Regions from separate parts of the Homo sapiens genome. Here region 2 is linked to region 1. The links are contacts of gene promoters, found by promoter capture Hi-C in blood cells and fetal thymus (Javierre and others, 2016). All regions are on one chromosome and are shown on one strand. Each heading gives the region's core, a stretch centred on a gene start or on the middle of the fragment in contact. The rest is flanking DNA. Distances are from core to core; before and after follow the strand shown. Region 1 holds the start of RWDD3 (RWD domain containing 3). Region 2 holds the start of ZNF644 (zinc finger protein 644).

What was found. The method cuts DNA at HindIII sites, captures the fragments that hold promoters and counts their contacts. A CHiCAGO score of 5 or more calls a contact.
Region 2: a fragment that was not itself captured here is called in contact with the fragment with the promoter of RWDD3 in region 1 in 3 of 17 cell types (naive CD8 T cells, non-activated CD4 T cells and naive CD4 T cells); the score reaches 7.3 in naive CD8 T cells.

What each region holds. Positions count from the first base shown.
Region 1 is chr1:95,230,946-95,237,043 of GRCh38, reverse strand. It overlaps RWDD3 (RWD domain containing 3), which reads right to left and starts at 2,834. Exons shown (of 4, transcript NM_015485.5): 1 at 2,729-2,834. The coding sequence starts at 2,813. TLCD4-RWDD3 (TLCD4-RWDD3 readthrough) reads right to left here. Exons shown (of 8, transcript NM_001199691.1): 7 at 6,050-6,098. It overlaps RWDD3-DT (RWDD3 divergent transcript), which reads left to right and starts at 3,062. Exons shown (of 4, transcript NR_125949.1): 1 at 3,062-3,344. RefSeq lists silencers at 2,374-2,553, 2,764-3,093. The HindIII fragment of the contact is 4,366 bases long and covers 1-3,839 here.
Region 2 is chr1:91,016,017-91,022,114 of GRCh38, reverse strand. It overlaps ZNF644 (zinc finger protein 644), which reads left to right and starts at 80. Exons shown (of 6, transcript NM_201269.3): 1 at 80-125. RefSeq lists silencers at 1-90, 421-490 and enhancers at 1-273, 274-823. The HindIII fragment of the contact is 702 bases long and covers 900-1,601 here.

The DNA of each region.
Region 1 (6,098 bases), core at 1,585-4,084:
TATAATTCAATTACTTATTGATGCCAGAACATGGAATTAAACTAATTAGGAGGCATGGCTTGAAAGTCATGCTCAATTTAACAGCAGATAAAGGGTTCACAGTGTTCTCAAGATTAAGAAACTGTTTTCTTTCTATGCTTACATTTTTGGGTTTTCTCTGACCCTTCAGCAGTGTTTTATGCTCAGCTGTGTACTAATGACCCAGACCATTACCAGTTCTTTAAGGTGTGATGGGAAATTGCAGGTTCATTTTTCCAGGATATTCCCAACTGAGCCATAATAAAGGAATTTAGGAAAACTGATGATCTCTTCAAATAGCTGCCTCAGGCAGAAGTAATTATCAATAAAGAGAACAGTGGAGACAGAGAGGGAGATGGTGAAGAATTATCCAATCAGAAGAGGGATGACAAGAAAACACTAAAAGTGAGTAAACCCCTTCATATGGATTTTAAACAATTGTTTCAAAAGATACAAGTCAGGCTGGGCACTAAAAAGAAAGCAACTCCATTACACTAATAGGTGCATAGTGCCTGGAACATAACAGTGCCCAATGAGTGGATGTGAGTGGATGAATGCAAGAAGGAATAAATGGAAGTCAACTCCCTGTCCTTCAGTGAATAACACACCCAATGGATATCATGAAGGATCTTAATCTTAAATGGTTTTCTCACAACATCCAGCCCATTTTTAGACTACTTTTTTTTTTTTTTTCTGAGACAGAGTTTCACTCTTGTTACCCAGGCTGCAGTGCAATGAATGGTGAGATCTTGGCTCACTGCAACCTCCGCCTCCCGGGTTCAAGTGATTCTCCTGCCTCAGCCTCCCGAGTAGCAAGGATCACAGGCGTGTGCCACCATGCCCAGCTAATTTTTGTATTTTTAGTAGAGATGGGGTTTCGCCATGTTGGCCAGGCTGGTCTTGAACTCCTGACCTCAGGTGATCTGCCCGCCTCGGCCTCCCAAAGTGCTGGGATTACAGGCATGAGCCACGCGCCAGGCCTAGACTACCTTCTTAAAGGTTAACCAATTTATGGTCAGAAAGCCAATTTTAATGGTAGCTACAATATAACATTAGAACGATAAATCTCATGCCCCAAACATGTACATAATGTATCTGAAAGCTAAGTGAAAACTGAGTCACTTTCTCATACATGGCAGTGTTTTTTCTTTTTTTTTTATTCAATAGAAGCCACATACAGGGACAGTAAGTTTCACCTATCATCAAAAAATAGTCAAAAGAACCTCTCTACACTGTAAGCTCCTAGAGGCCATGGGTAGCGGTGTCTCTGAAACCCTGACAAAGTCTGTAGGCAGCAGGGATTCAATAAATGTGGGCTAAATGACTAATAAAGCCCTCAAGAGCTTGTTTAAAAAAAAGTATCAGAAGGCCAGGCACCTGTGGCTCACGCCTGTAATCCCAGCACCTTGGGAGGCCGAGACGCGCGGATCACGAGGTCAGGAGATTGAGACCAGCCTGGCCAACATGGTGAAACCCCGTCTCTACTAAAAATACAAAAAATTAGCCAGTCATGGTGGCAGGCGCCTGTAGTGCCAGCTACTCGGGAGGCTGAGGCAGGAGAATGGTGTGAACCCAGGAGGTGGAGCTTGCAGTGAGCCGAGATCGCGCCACTGCACTCCAGCCTGGGGGACAGAACAAGACTCTGTCTCAAAAAAAAAAAAAAAAAAAAAAAAAGGCCGGGCGCAGTGGCTCACGCCTGTAATCCCAGCACTTTCGGAGGCCGAGGCGGGCGGACCACGAGGTCCGGAGATCGAGACCATCCTGGCTAACACGGTGAAACCCTGTCTCTACTAAAAAAAAAAATACAAAAAATTAGCCGGGCGTGGTGGTGGGCGCCTGTAGTCCCAGCTACTCGGGAGGCTGAGGCAGGAGAATGGCGTGAACCCGGGAGGCGGAGGTTGCAGTGACCCGAGATCGCGCCACTGCACTCCAGCCTAGGCGACAAAGCAAGACTCCGTCTTAAAAAATAAAAAATAAATAAAATAAAATAAATAAAATTCAGCCAGGCATGGTGGCACGCGCCTGTGATCCCAGCTACTCGGGAGGCGGAGGCTGCAGTGAGTCCAGATGGATCCACTGCACTCCAGCCAGGGCAACAAGAGAGACTCCACCTAAAAAAAAAAAAGTATCAGAAAAGCAATCAACTTGGAAATAGAATGCAGATAAAGTTGAGGTTGAGCACTGGATAAATGAAAAAGTTCAGTCAACAAACATTTACCTACTACCTACCAGGTGCCTGGAGTCATTACCAAACAGACCCTGCCCTCCTGCAACTTAAGACCTACAAATACCCGTGTAGAGTTAGAACCGGGGAGTGCTCTCGGGGGGGCCTAGGGCATAGTGCTTAGGAAGGACACAGAACAACGAGGGGGCGTCAGCACAGGCTTCTTTATAGGGTGAGATCTGAGGGGTGGGAGGCTGGGGGAGGGCCTGGGGGTGCGCACGCAGGGGCCCCCGGCTCCGGGAGCGGGACCGGCGGCAGAGGCCCCAGTGGGCCGCGCCGCTCTCTTAGTGTTTCTGGGGTCGCCTCACACTCCCGCCCGCTGCGACACCACTCCGGCCTCCGGGCGTGTCATTCCATCATTCAACTAACCCGGTCCCCATACGTGGGCCCAGGCGGGGTGCCCAGGCTCCGTGGTGGGGAGGAGACGCAAAGCGAACGCGGGTGGCCCCTGAGGGCGCCCTGTCCCTCCCGCGCGCGGGTAGTCACCTGAGCGGCTCAGCACCTCCCACTCGTGGGGCCTGCAGAAAATCGCGGCCAGGACCGAGAGCTCCTCCTGCACAGGCTCCGCCATGGCTGTGGGCCCCACCGCCTCAGCGCTTCCCCTTCCGCTGCCGCAGCCGCCGCCTCCACCGGCCAGGAGCAGCACTGCCCGCGGCCACCCGGGGGCGCCCCGCGCCTCCGCAACCGGGCGGGACGGGGGCGGGGCGAGACGGAGCTGGGGCGAAGCGAAACGGGACGTGGGCGAGGCGAGTCCGGGCGAGGGTCAGGGCAGACGGGGCGGGCGGGGCCCTTAGAAGTTCCGCCCAGAAGCTCCTGCTCAGTAACTACAGACGCGAAGCTCAGCCTCTCGGTTTGGGAATTTTCTTGGAGGCCGAGGCCCTGCGCCTCTGTCTGCACCCAAGGCGACCGCCCAGCTTACCCCCGGCTCTTCTGAGCACAGGGAGGCCTCCCAGCAAAGCCTGAACCCTCTAAGTTTAGCTGCAGGCTTCGAACCCCGACCGTCCCCGCCGAGCCTTGGGCTGCTGAGGTGGGGATGAACTGGGCGAAAGACACTTGGGAGTTAGGAAGAAACAAACAAGCAGGGAAGTGACCAGGAGACAAGGTGAGACTTTGCCCGGCTCAGGTCTGAACTGAGTGTTGGAGATAACCACAGTTAACAAAATAAACAAAATTATTCGCCCCCGTGGAGCTGTTAGCAACCCTGGTGCCTGGGAAGCCTGGAAGAGGCTCGGGTTAGTAACAACCTCCAGGATGCCCTCCGAACTGGTACTGGCGCCGGGACTCTAGACAAGGTCCAGATTCCCGGGCCCTTCCCCTTACGGGTGCAAAAAGGGAGGGTCAGGACCTGCCAGTCCTGGCTTCAGGATGTTGACTGGACGGACCTGGACTCATGGGAACTGTGCGCCAAAGTCCTGGGAGCAAAGTGTCATAACGCTCCTCGTTTGTCTCTTGCCTTCACAGGAGACAGCCCTGCTGCAAGCGGCCAGTGGGAATCCTTGGCCTTTGGGGGTATGATCCAAGAATGTAAACGCTAGCTTTTCAGTGTTTTCGATTTCGTGATATTCAATGCATACAATACAATGTGACTCTTGAAGCTTAATAATAAAATTATCATTCTTGAGCCCAGCACCTAAATTTTAAAATGTGAGCAATACCAATAGGGTAACAGAATAAGCAATCCATTCTGTTTTGACTATAGTGAACAAGATTACAAGACTTATCTGCAGTTAGGTCTGTCTCTCGGATGTTTGCCTGGTCTTTTTGCTGTTCAAATAACAGTTTAAAATTTGGCAGTCCCCACAAGCAGCTGGTCTTGCTCATGGAGTTCTCACAACTTTTGTTTGTATGAGAAATCACATTTCATGAGATAAATCTGGGAATTTAGGTTGTTAGGCAGTGACTCCAGTCACTGACCTACGGAAGTCAGAACAAAGTTGGCTGATTTTAAAACCCTGCATCCATTCACCATTACCATTCCCGCTGTTGGTAAAAAAGGAATCTGATAAAGGAAAAGATACTGGCTTCCCGGAACAGAAAGGAAACCTAACAAGATGGACTGCAGGGAAAATGCTTTTCAGAAGATGCCATGGGATTTCAGTGACCCCGAGTAATTAGGAGCACATAATTGGGAAGATGAAGGCTTATTTAAATGCAGTTATCTCTGATATGGCCAATTGGCTTGAAGAAAAAAAAAACTCCTTTATTTCCAAAATAACAGACGTTCCAGCAGTTCAGTAGGTTCATAATTAACTGCTAAAGAGATTGAACAAAAGAATACGTTTTTAATTTAAAATATTACTAAGTTATTTTAATTCGAAATCCAGTGTTACTATGAAAAGTCAAACAATTTGGTTTTTGACTTATTTATTGAAAATAATCTATAAAATAGGCTGGGCGCAGTGGCTCATGCCTGTAAGCCCAGCACTTTGGGAGGCCGAGGCGGGTGGATCACCTGAGGTCAGGAGTTCGGGACCAGCCTGACCAACATGGTGAAATGCTGTCTCTACTAAAAATACAAAATTTAGCTGGGCGTGGTGGCAAGCACCTATCATCCCAGCTACTCAGGAGGCTGAGGCAGGAGAATCGCTTGAACCCGGGAGGCGGAGGTTGCAGTGAGCCGAGATCGCACCTTTGCACCACTCCAGCCTAGGCAACCAAGCGAGACTCCGTCTCAAGAGCAAAAAAAAATCTATAAAATATTCAAATAGTTTTTACTTATTTTTAATTTTCCAAATTCACTATAAGTGAGATGAGTGAAATAACATGAAGAGCAAAATTACAGCTGTAGGAAGGATTAGGAGGCAGTTGCTAAAGCCTGCTGTCAGCAATAGGTCCATGAAAATTGATTAAAGAGTACATCAATCTATGATTTAAAATTTTCTTGTCAATAGGTTTCTTCTTTGCTCTTCCTTTCTCAGTTGATTTCTTAATCTGCTTTTCATACCTCATTTAGCATGTTTAAATAAAAAAGAAGTCAATGTGAATGTCTTTTAAATTGACACTATCCTAAGGCACTGAAGTCCCATGAATAAGTTTCTGCACTCTGACATTTGGAAATAATCATCTCAGAGACTGCATAATGTCAGCTTGATATTTCTTGCACTGTGAAAATATCAGCTACATGTCAAATCTCTAAAGTCTACCTTAATGTAATAAGTTTCCTCGTATTCACAGGCTACTGAAAATTCAAAATATTTAAATGTAGGATGAATGTCTACAGTTAGAGCATTGTCTACCTCCATCTCTCTCTCTCCCTTCTCACCCTTACACACACAAAGGTGTATGATTTGCTAGAACAATTATTATTTTTACAAGTATTATTTTTACAAGCAAATTTTCTAAATAGTTGCTTCCCCAAGACCATAAGGGGAAAAGGTTTAAAACCTTTCACCTTCAGTTAAAACCAATAACCCAGAAGATAGTTCTTTTCATTTTGGGGGGAAACAGTTCTACTCACTTTCTCATGAGTAGTATGTAGACTTACTCAACTCTGAGTTTGAAATCTTAAGTCAAAACTCACGTGAGCATAGAAATGAGAATGCACAATTTCAAGTGTATTAGGAGAGTTAAGTGTTATGTCAAAAAAAGGTGAGGATCCTAATACTGGAGTGGAGTGTGATAAGAAAAAATATCAAATCAAAACTGAGAAAGGTAAAAGTACTTTCATGAACCACCAAAACAACCAAAAGAGGGCTTAAATGCCAACTTCCTAAATAAATCTGAACTCCAAGAACCTGTGCTACTGGTTCTGTCTAAAGAGTTTCTGCATTCGCATACTCATTTCACAAAATGTTCTTAGACACTCACTGATTGTTGGCCGGGCTCTGCAGGCTGAGTGTGGAGAGGTGGAGAGTTA
Region 2 (6,098 bases), core at 1-2,500, 4.2 Mb after region 1:
CTGGAGGCGAAAAGCGGGGAGCGGAGGGGGGCCGCTGGAGCCGAGTAGCGTACAGAGCGGCGTGTGACGCGGGGACGCCGCGTGCTCCCAACGTCGCCCCGGTTTGACGCACACGGCACCAAACTGTGAGTTTCAGGGGTTATTTGGTCAGATTCGCTGGGACCCGAGTGGGTTTCGGGCCTCTGGGCTGTGGCAGCGGCGGGACTGAGGGTGGCGGAAGAACTTGGGGGACCCGGCCTCCGGCTCTCGGGCCCGGGGAGCTACGCCCTAGGCTGGGTCCCAGCCATCCAAAAGGACGCATTTTGCCGCACAGGCTAAGATGGCGGCGGCGGCCGAGGAGGCGGAGTTGGTGCTACACAAGGAGCCCGGGCCCCGGGTTCGGGGAGGCGGCGGCCGCGGCGGTCGCTGGGGGCCACGGAGCCTGAGGTGAGCGGCGGCCGCCGCCGCGGGGCGGGACTCGGCGGGGGGATGGGGGGGGGGCTTTCCGCTGCGGCGTCGGAGGATCCGGTAGCGGACACAAAGGGGCTGAGCTGGGCACTAGACTTGGGGGTTTTGTTTAGTCACATGAAGCCGAGCAGCCAGTGAGCAGTAGGGGGAAGGGGCCGAGATCAGGCGGCTTGGGGAGCCTGGCGGTCGCCATTGCAATGCACTGAGTAACGGGGCGGGCCGAGAGCAGTCACCAACCCCTCTCGTTGAGGCTGCTCGGTTGTGGCCAGAAACGCTGGCTCTGGCATTAACTGTCTACACCCCTCCCCTTACTTGGGACAGGACCGCATAGCCCTCCCCTCCCCCCGTCCTGCAAGATCTTATGCGGCTAGGTGCCTGGGAAGTAACAGCAAGAGGTAAATCGCTCGAAGTGTTTGGGTTGCCAGGGGCTTGGTGGGTGTCCAGCTAAAGCTTTTTGCCTCTCCAGGTCTGATTCTCTGGCCTTTGTGTCCCTGGGAAGTTACTCTGCCAGAGGAAAGCAGGTGTGCTCCACTTCTCCCGTGAACCTGAAGATGAGTTGTCCCAGACTCTTCTCAGTGATTGGAAACTTAGGTGGTGGAGCTAAAGGTTACTTGTTACGAGACTTCTACAGACAACTCTTGTTGGGATCCATCTATGGTTTAGCAACATTAGTGGAAAAGTTTTCTTGAATATTGACTTTGAATATAAAAACGTTTATATTTAGACTTCAGATTTTGTGTGATCATCAAACTCAACGAGGGGATAAACATAATTGGGGGCGAATGATGGTCTTGTCTTGTTAATAATTTCAACAGAAGTATCACAACACCGCCGACTATCCTGTCCAGTCCTAATTCCACGCTTGTTGCATCTGGATGGTAGATTTGTTTTAATTGTGTATTCCCTCCCTGCAGTAGTTTGCTTTAGTTGTAAACATTTTTTGGTCCCATGAGAAGGAAAACATTTCAAAAAATAGACAACTAAAGTTTCTCAAAGAAAGGAAACCTGGCTGTTTGCCTTCAGTTGCATGTGTAAGTATCTAGGGAACTTGATGGCAGTAATATTGCATTTTGGTAGGCTTGCTAAGAAAAACCTCGTTTTTATAATAAGGCTATAATCTAGCTTAGACATTTTAATTGGTGAAGCATAAAGCTTGATTAGTATTAATGCAGTGGTATGTATTGCTTTTAAAAGTCTTACAATTTCTAACAAATTAAAGTTATACTGCAATTATATCATACTTTGTGTTGGTATTAACTCATGAAGTACAAAATTTTGAAACACCTAATGTTTTGTGTTGGCAATTAACAGAATTCCTTGGTTGGAGGGATATTTAAACACATTAGATCACTGTGTAGATCTCTGTGTTCAAACTGAAATTTGAATTTTTCAACATTAGTTAACTTTCATTTCCTTGTTCTTTTCAGATATATATTTTCTCTTTTTTTAGCTTCTAATACAGAACAGTCTTGTATTAATGAATAGGAGATGCATTAACATTAGCAAATGTATTCCTGGATCATAAAGTTTTACAGTGGAAGCAATATCAAAGAACAACTGCTCTTACCCTCCTCTTTTACAATATATTGAGGACCAGAGATGATTAAGTTAGTGGCATAATGGAAAATTGCCTTTCAGCCTCTACCCATTGCTGTTTGTATTTGTCATATTGCTGGGATGAGAAGGTGAATATCTACAACTAATGGTTAAAAAAACAAGGGAATGTTATTGAGAATACTTGTTAATTAAATATTGTTAGGTTCATGAGAACTTCTGTGACAATAAGTTAAAAACTTTCATATTGGCCTGGCACGGTGGCTCACGCCTGTAATCCCAGCACTTTGGGAGGCTGAGGCGAGCAGATCACGAGGTCAAGAGATCGAGACCATCCTGGCTAACATGGTGAAACCCCGTCTCTACTAAAAATGTAAAAATTTCCTGGGCGTGGTGGTGCCTATAGTCCCACCTACTCGGGAGGCTGAGGCAGGAGAATCACTTGAACCCGGAAGGCAGAGGTTGCAGAGAGCTGAGATCGTGGCACTGCACTCCAGTCTGGTGACACAGCAAGACTACATCTCAAAACAAAAAAACAAAAAAACTTTCATATTCTGTGGTTAACTTGGTTTTTAAAGTGACTTTCAGTGAAACAAAATCAGGTACAAAATACAGAAATATCAGATAGTTTCAGAGCAATGTTGCTTTTGAATTTTAAGGTTTTCCAAATGCAGTCTTGACCCAGAAATTGAAAAATTAAAAAACAACAACCAGGGACTTGATAAATTTCTTTGAAAGTTTGAAATAACTGCTGTTATTGCCAGTTATTATGTAGGAAAAGAAATGAGATCAATGCTGAAAATAATGGTGTCTTTCATTTTGTAATAGTGTTTTGGTTGGATAAACGAATGTGCCACTCAGAATGTTCCCTTTCTTTAAAACAACTTTTTAAGACTACTACTTCTACTGAGTGGTACCTCTAAGGTCTGTTAGGAAATTGAACAAGTAGTGACAGTCATTTATGGTGGAACCCTATAGTGATTTTTAACTTCTTTGAATGTCAGATTTAGCAAAAAGTTAAATTGTTTTAAGGTTTTAAAAGTTTTTATGGGTCATATAAGGTGCTTTTAAATTACTGATTTTTGTTAGTTGATAAGCTGTTTTATAATTTTCAACATTATGTGAGTGGATTTACTTACACTTTCATTTTGTGAAAATTAGAGTCACTTTCAGGTTATTTGTAGTTATAAAGTGGTCTGTCACCTGCCAACCTTAAACATTTTCCAGTTTTAGTTTGTCATTCAAGTTATAAGAGTGTTTTGGTTGAATTGAGACTGTTAATGGGTAGCAGGAGGAGAAAAGAAAGTTTCAAAGAGAATAGAAGTGGTGGGATATCTGCAATCTAGAGAAAGGTCAGGTCCATTTTTTTTCTGTCATCCTAAATATTGTTTTTTAGTGTTACTTATTTAGACCATTTTCTCAGGATGTGATTCTGGAAGGAAAAGTGAATCTTATTCTTGGGAAGGCTTTTCAGTCAGGTCTTAAGACAATTGTAGCTTGCAGCAAATGGAGAAATTGGCATGTTGAGTTATCTAACCCTGATTTTATAGAGCACTTGTTTTAACCATTTTTTAAACTGTTTTCTAAATGTTTTAAATTAGTAACCTTGTAAAATAAAACGAGAATGAAGAGTGGATACTGTAATACTATGGATACATATTCAAATGAGCTTTTATTTACACTTATTAATCTTTCTGGTAGAGAGAATGTCTATTTCGTATATGGAGAATCTGTAAATATTGAGTAAAGTTGTCAGGTATAGCATTGACTGAAGCAGTTCTAGAAGTGGTGTTTTTGATTCAGGTTTATTAGAGGGAAATAAATAGCTGCTGTTAATAGTGCAAGCCGTTTACACCATTGAGTTTTGGGAGATTTGAGAATCATGGAACTGATGCTAGCACTAGCTCACCCTGCTGGTTGGCTAAAAGATTTCTCCTCTTCCCCTTAAGAAACAAACATGAAGATCACAGGAGACCCAGAGGGTAGTAAGACTCTAAATTAAATTCTGTCTTTCTTCAGGGAGAGGAAGTTCCCATGAAAAAGGTGTTTTCTTGTCTCTAAGGCCTTAGTTGCTGCATTATAATTTTTTTTGCAGATCTGCCAAGTTGAACCATGGAGTTACTATCCTTTCTTTTTCTTTCTTTTTGGTTGGGGGACGGAGTCTCGGTCTGTTTCCCAGGCGCGGGTGCAGTGGTGCAATCTTGGCTCACTGCAACCTCTGCCTCTCAGGTTCAAGTGATTCTCCTGTCTCAGCCTCTCAAGTAGCTGGGATTACGGGCGCCGGCCACCACACCTGGCTAATGTTTGTATTTTTAGTAGAGATGGGGTTTCATCATGTTGGCCAGGCTGGTCTCGAACTCCTGACCTCAGGTGATTCACCCGCCTTGGCCTCCCAAAGTGCTGGGATTACAGGCGTGAGCCACCGCACCTGGCAGTAGTTACTATCCTTTTTGAACTTCCTGGGAACTCTTATGTGATTATGGAAAGTTAGTATATTTTTATTCTTTTAATTTCAAGATAAGAAATCCTTTGACAATTGAGAGATGTTAGGAAGAAAAACAGCCCTGTGAGAGTAACTTTCCAGGAGGAAAAAAGCAGAGGATTTCAAGAGTAAGAGGAGGAGGAGCCTGCCAGGGCAGAAGTAGCAGCAGTGCACACTTCTCTTGGTTGGGAGAAAGTGAGACTGGATTAAGATTAGCGTTTCTGGGAGATTTTCTTTCCCCTCTCCTACTAATCTTGGCCCTACCTCTTCTGTCTGCTAGCTGTGGTCTTCCCATTTCATTTGGAATCCTTTGAACTGAGATTTTGTAAGTAAAAATAAAGATAAATGATTTGTTCCTTGAAGCTTAATTCTGTTAGCCTAGATTTTGGTAGAATTGAAGCTGGGTTAGAGTGATGAAGGCAGATTTTATGTGTTAAGCCTTTTGGTATGTGTATCTTTTTTTTAAGTTGAAAATACAGCTTTTAAAATACTTTATATAGGCCGGGTGTGGAGGCTCACACCTGTAATCCCAGCACTTTGGGAGGCCAAGGTGGGTGGATCACTTGAGGTCAGGAGTTTGAGACCAGCCTGGTCAACATGATGAAACCCTGTCTCTACCAAAAATACAAAAATTAGCTGGGCATGGTGGCACGTGCCTGTAGTCCCAGCTACTTGGGAGGCCGAGGCAGGAGAATCACTTGAACCCAGGAGGCAGAGGCTTCAGTGAGCAGAGATGCCGTGCCACTGCACTCTAGCCTGGGTGACAGAGTGAGACCCTGTCTCAAATAAAAAAGACTTTGTTCAAACTCTAGAAACGTAAGTATATTTTGAGCCAAATAGACAACTGAAAATTAAAAATACCTAATAAAGTGTTGATTAAAATTCTTTACACTTTACAAAGCATGTTTACCTGTAGTCTATCAATTATTTTATCTAATTTTTTGAAAAGATTAATATTTTACTTAAAAGTATCTCTTTCATTAGTTTCTTGAGGAAGATATTAAATACAGTCATGTGCAGCATAATGATGTTCTTTGGTCAATAGTGGACTGCATTTACGATGGTGGTCCCATAAGATTGTAATACTGTATTTTTACTGTATTTTATGTTCTATGTTTAGATACACAAATACTAAACAGTTATGTTACAGTTGTGTGTGGTATTCAGTACAATAACATGCTTTACAGGAGCATGTTGTAGCCTAGGAACAATAGGCTATACCAAGTAGCCTAGGTGTGTAAGTAGGCTCTACCATCTAGGTTTGTTTGAGTACACTTTGTGATGTTTGCACAGTGACCAAATTGCCTAAGAATGCATCTCTCAGAATGTACATCCATGCTTAAGTGATGTATGACTGTAAAACTAGTACTTTCAGAGCACCATTTATTGGGGAGGAGAGGGGTAATTCCCAATTTATTGTTGGTTTGTGAAGGTGGGTAAAAGGCTTCACAGAGTTGGAATTAATTGCCTTTTGTTTGCTACTGACTCACTAAATACTTTACACACAGACACACACACACATAGAATCACAATTGCAATTGTAATTATGCATATATAAAGAGGCAGGATATGATAAAGTTTGAAAGTGTAAGCCTTGAAGTAAAATTGACAGGGT